2 separate regions of the Homo sapiens genome follow, and region 1 is linked to region 2. Evidence: promoter capture Hi-C in 16 types of primary human blood cells and fetal thymus (Javierre and others, 2016). All regions are on one chromosome and are shown on one strand. Each heading gives the region's core, a stretch centred on a gene start or on the middle of the fragment in contact. The rest is flanking DNA. Distances are from core to core; before and after follow the strand shown.

The links. The method cuts DNA at HindIII sites, captures the fragments that hold promoters and counts their contacts. A CHiCAGO score of 5 or more calls a contact.
Region 1: a contact is called between a fragment that was not itself captured here and the fragment with the promoter of OR2AE1 in region 2, in 1 of 17 cell types (erythroblasts). The highest score is 5.7, in erythroblasts.

What each region holds. Positions count from the first base shown.
Region 1 is chr7:99,667,479-99,670,557 of GRCh38, reverse strand. The region is part of intron 4 of CYP3A5 (cytochrome P450 family 3 subfamily A member 5); the gene reads left to right. It also overlaps a transcript of ZSCAN25 not described here. Among named protein-coding and RNA genes, the nearest start is that of CYP3A5, 11 kb to the left of the region's middle. The HindIII fragment of the contact is 1,599 bases long and covers 582-2,180 here.
Region 2 is chr7:99,875,723-99,878,552 of GRCh38, reverse strand. OR2AE1 (olfactory receptor family 2 subfamily AE member 1) reads left to right here and starts at 1,520. Exons shown (of 1, transcript NM_001005276.1): 1 at 1,520-2,491. The coding sequence starts at 1,520. The coding sequence ends at 2,491. The HindIII fragment of the contact is 12,247 bases long and covers 976-2,830 here.

The DNA of each region.
Region 1 (3,079 bases), core at 132-2,631, 210 kb after region 2:
ATATATATGTCGACTGAAAATGGAGTTGCAAATATACCAAAATATTGATGATTTTTTCAGAAATCTTGAAATACCTGTTTTCAAATTCCTGTATCAAATTGAAAAGCAAGGCTGCGTATTTTTGGCTGTTCACAGGACCATGTTTAGCCAACATGTCGAAATGCATAAAATTGTTTGCCTTAATTTGAGCTTGCCATAATTTCAGTTTCATATGGAATGCTGTTATGGTTTGAAACATTGTATTGTTAAGTTGGTTTTCAACTTGAAGACACAGGTTTAACTCACTTAAATGGGCCGTCAAACCCACTAAAAATGCTAAATCTGTAAGCCAGTTTTCATTGTCAAGTTCTGGCACCAATTTTGTTTGATACCATAAACAGCTTGATTTCACATCACAAAGCATAAAATCTTTACATTTTGCCTTGACTTAACCATCTTACTTCTAAAAAGTGAATGACTTGCTAGAGTCAGCATCCATACTTTTAAGGAATTCCTGAAACTAGCGATGATTCAATTCCTGGGCCCTTGTGAAATTTACAGCCTTGATGACAATTTGCATGACGTTATCTACTTTTAAAGCTTGTGCACATGGATTTTCTTGATGTATTATGCAATAATACTTCATCAAATGTGAGTTTTGTGTGGCAACTGCATCATCTATTAATTGTACAAGTCCCTCTCTTTTACCTACCATCGCCAGGGCAGCATCTGTAGCTATATCACATATGTTTACAAAGGACAAAGAAAATTGCTTTAACATATTTTTCACTGCTTCATATAAATCTCTTGATTTAGTTGTGTCTTTTAATAGCATGGTGACATTTCGATTTCTTCAGTGACATTATATTCATCATCAATACCTCTAATAAAAATAGCAAGTTGTGCCGTATCTGTAGTGTCAGTGCCTTCATCCATCACCAAAGCATAAAATTTTAAATTAGCAGTTTTACTCTCCAAACGTCTTTCAATAGATTTCCCAATTTCTCCAATTCTCCTGGCTATAGTCTGGTGAGACAAACTGATTTTAGAAATATCAGTTTCTCAAGGCAAATAATATCTACCACATCTTCCAGACATTGCTTAATAAACTCACCATCAGTAAATGGTTTTGATTTTTTTGCTATTAAATTTGCTACCACATAACTAGGTTTTACCTTACGATTGAGTCCGAGTTGTAACTTTTTAAAAAATCTTTTTTGTTGAAAAGACAGACTTTTTTTCAGTTCTGCTATTTTGTCCTTACAACACATACACACCAAATTTGTCAGCACGTTTTTGCATATAATGCCTCTTCAAATTGTAGTCTTTGAAAACTGGCACAAATTCCGTGGAAATTAAGCAGAGTGCTTCGCTATTTGCCTCAACAAGAAAAAGTCATTTGTCCACTTTTCATTGAACAATCTTCCTTCATCCATAATTTTTGTTTTTTAGGGTTTTCTTTTTAAGACATTGTGGAAGCCATTCTGGAATTAAAAGCATTATAATAGATAAGCAACTATATTTACTTTTATTATGGAAATTAACAGATAGGAAAATAGAACAGAAAGCAAGGTTTAATAATCAAATAAGAATACTTACATGTCTTCTAAATAATATTAAACACCTATCATCTACAAAGGTAGGTTGAAATATTATTGATAATTGCTGGGTTTTACTTGCCAAATTGCCACAAACACACCTAATACCTGACAGTGTCAATTCAACTGTCCGTGATTAGAAGATAACACACTGGAAGTCGCACACCACCATAAAACTGAAGCCACACATGCGTACAAATGGCGACAGTGTCTGGTGTACAGCAGCGCTCTGCCTTGTCCAGAATACACACTTGAATTCTTTGTCACAATTCACTTCACGTGGCACTGCAATAGCGTCCTCTCGCTCTTTGTTAGTTAATTTTAATGGCTTTTAATTTCTTCTTGCTGAACTGTTTGCAATTATAATGCAAATTATGGATACTAGTCCATTATTTGTGGATGTGACATACTCTGATTACCCCTTTCCATTCCATTGTTGTCTACGAAGTTCACACTTGAGAATCACATAGTCAAATTACAAAATTACAAAAAAAATTGCAAAAAAACTCAAAATGTTTTAAGAAAGTTTCCACATTTGTATTGGGATACATTCAAAGCCATCCTGGACTGCATGAGGCCTGCAGGCCACAAGTTGGACAAGCTTGAATTAAACCAATAGAACAATTTGGGTATAATCTATATCTTTACTATGTTCAGCCTTTCATCCCGTGAATATAGTATGCCTCTCCATTTCTTTAGCTTTTATTACTTTCCTCAACATTTTATAGTTTTCAGCATAGAGGTCCTGTACATCTTTTGTTAGATTTACACCAGAAATATTTCATTTTTGTTGGAGTAACTGTAAATGATACTGTTTTTCTTGTATTTTCAGATATTGATTATTGTTACATAGAAATGTGAATAATTTTGTTTGTTGATCTTGTATCCTATAGCCTTGCAGAACTTACCTATTCGTTCTAGAAATTTTTTTGTATATTCCTTGACATTTTATACATTGACAATTATGTCACCTGAAAATAGAGACAATTCTATTATTTCCTTTCCAATCTGTATGCCTTTTATTTCTTTTTCTTGTCTAGTGTATTAAGACATCAGGTATGCTCTTTAGTAAGAATGTTGAGAGTGGGCATTTTTTAGTTCTTCTTGATCTTGGAAAAACCATTCAGTCCTTCATCATTAAATGTGATTTAACTGAATGATTTTTTTACAGATTGTCTTTATCAAATGAAGGAACTGTCTCTCTCTTCCTAGTTTATTGAGATTTTATCATGACAGCTGGAAGTACACATTTTAAAACAAAACATAGTTGTGGAAGATAAGAGAAAGTTCCAAGCATGCTGGCTTGATAGTCCAGCCCCAAGTTGGGAAAAGTAATTATCCCTTTCTTTTTCCTTCTATTTATGGAATAAAAAATTAAGAGAAAAGAATTTTCAAGGAAATTGCATTATTCCTTCAAAACAGGTTTCTAGTCTTTAAGTATTACCTACTTTTCAAAAAAAAATCACCACATCATGGCATCCCTTTTTCAAGTTGCCCATGCT
Region 2 (2,830 bases), core at 271-2,770:
TATTTTTTTTTTTTTATTTTTTTTTTTAAGACGGAGTCTCGCTCTGTTGCCCAGGCTGGAGTGCAGTGATGCGATCTCCACTCACTGCAAGCTCCGCTTCCTGGGTTCACACCATTCTCTTGCCTCAGCCTCCCGAGTAGCTGGGACTACAGGCGCCCGCCACCACGCCCGGCAAATTTTTTGTATTTTTAGTAGAGACGGGGTTTCACCGTGTTAGCCAGGATGGTCTCCATCTCCTGACCTCGTGATCCACCTGCCTCGGCCTCCCAAAGTGCTGGGATTACAGGCGTGAGCCGCCGCGCCCGGCCAGGTGTGTGCATTTTTAATCTGGCCATTAAGAAGCGCCCCAGCGGCCGGGTGCGGTGGTTCACGCCTGTAATCCCAGCACTTTGGGAGGCCGAGGCGGGGGGATCACGAGGTCAGGAGATGGAGACCATCCTGTCGAACACGGTGAAATCCCCGTCTCTACTAAAAATACAAAAAATTAGCCGGGTGTGGTGGCAGGCGCCTGTAGTCCCAGCTACTACGGAGGCTGAGGCAAGAGAATGGCATGAACCCGGGAGGCGGAGCTTGCAGTGAGACGAGATCGGGCCACAGCATTCCAGCCTGGGCGACAGAGCAAGACTCCAACTCAAAAAAAAAAAAAAAAAAAAAAAGAGGCGCCCCAGCTTCTGCAGGATATCCACACCGCCAATTTCAGAGACAACAAGAACTGACATGGGTTTCAGTCTGCCTTTGTGGGATTGCAGCTCATGCTTGTGGGTTCCAGCATGACTTTGATCTGCCACTCTTTATATCCATTTTTTTTTTCCTGACTACTTGCCCTCTGGAATTAAAGTTCCAGCATCAGACACAAAGGTAACAGCCACGCATAGATTGCCTAACCAGCTTCCACAATTGTATAAGAGAAATCTCTTAGTGTTATAGCTTTTCTAGTAAAATCCTCACTGATAAAATAAGCAACGCCCCCAAGCTTTTCTCCAAACTGTCTCTCTGTGTGTGTCTGTATAGAGAGAGAGAGCTTAAAAATCTGCCTTCACAAACATGATCACTCTGAAATCTCAGAATATCTAGACTCCATTAAGTATCAAACTTCAAGTCTCTTCTCATTAAGAAAGACAAATGTGTGTGTGTGTGTGTGTGTGTATACATATGTGTGTTTTGGAAGCCTAGGAAGTAAATGGGGAATAAATATATACACACATACATATACATACACACACACACACACACACATATATATCTTTCTTAACGAGAAGAGACTTGAAGTTTGATAATAGAGTCCAGATATTCTGAAATTTCAGAGTGATTATGTTTGTGAAGGCAGATTTCTAAGCTCTCTTTTAAAAAAAGGTTATTTGAATAATTAGAGAGGTTGAATAATTAGAAACGGAAATTTTTTTCACAGGTTCTGTCCTCTATCAAAAGGTGCTTTTCCTTGGGTATACTGGACCCCAGTATTTCCAGTCACACTCTTTATCTCCACTCTCTGTTTCCTCAGGGATTGAGAAAGGGGACAATGTGGCAGAAGAATCAGACCTCTCTGGCAGACTTCATCCTTGAGGGGCTCTTCGATGACTCCCTTACCCACCTTTTCCTTTTCTCCTTGACCATGGTGGTCTTCCTTATTGCGGTGAGTGGCAACACCCTCACCATTCTCCTCATCTGCATTGATCCCCAGCTTCATACACCAATGTATTTCCTGCTCAGCCAGCTCTCCCTCATGGATCTGATGCATGTCTCCACAATCATCCTGAAGATGGCTACCAACTACCTATCTGGCAAGAAATCTATCTCCTTTGTGGGCTGTGCAACCCAGCACTTCCTCTATTTGTGTCTAGGTGGTGCTGAATGTTTTCTCTTAGCTGTCATGTCCTATGACCGCTATGTTGCCATCTGTCATCCACTGCGCTATGCTGTGCTCATGAACAAGAAGGTGGGACTGATGATGGCTGTCATGTCATGGTTGGGGGCATCCGTGAACTCCCTAATTCACATGGCGATCTTGATGCACTTCCCTTTCTGTGGGCCTCGGAAAGTCTACCACTTCTACTGTGAGTTCCCAGCTGTTGTGAAGTTGGTATGTGGCGACATCACTGTGTATGAGACCACAGTGTACATCAGCAGCATTCTCCTCCTCCTCCCCATCTTCCTGATTTCTACATCCTATGTCTTCATCCTTCAAAGTGTCATTCAGATGCGCTCATCTGGGAGCAAGAGAAATGCCTTTGCCACTTGTGGCTCCCACCTCACGGTGGTTTCTCTTTGGTTTGGTGCCTGCATCTTCTCCTACATGAGACCCAGGTCCCAGTGCACTCTATTGCAGAACAAAGTTGGTTCTGTGTTCTACAGCATCATTACGCCCACATTGAATTCTCTGATTTATACTCTCCGGAATAAAGATGTAGCTAAGGCTCTGAGAAGAGTGCTGAGGAGAGATGTTATCACCCAGTGCATTCAACGACTGCAATTGTGGTTGCCCCGAGTGTAGAGTGGAATAGGATAAGCTCCTTAAATTAATTCATATAAACCTCTAAAGTTTTTCAGGGAGATAGCTTCCTTATGCTGTTTTACTACTGGAAGAAAAACACATTTAACACACAATTCCAGTATTCCAGCTTGGTGTCAGGTATCCAAGCACTGTGGAGAACATTTGAGTAGATCTTTAGAGAATTAGGGAAAACTTTTTAAAAAGTCCCTTTGAAAGAAGACATATAAAGGTCACTGACACCCTGAAAAAAAGAAGGCAAGATAAAGATATAAGGGCCCTTATCTATTATTATTTTTATTAACAAAAATATATAAAACATGCCACCAGAGAGTATTTATG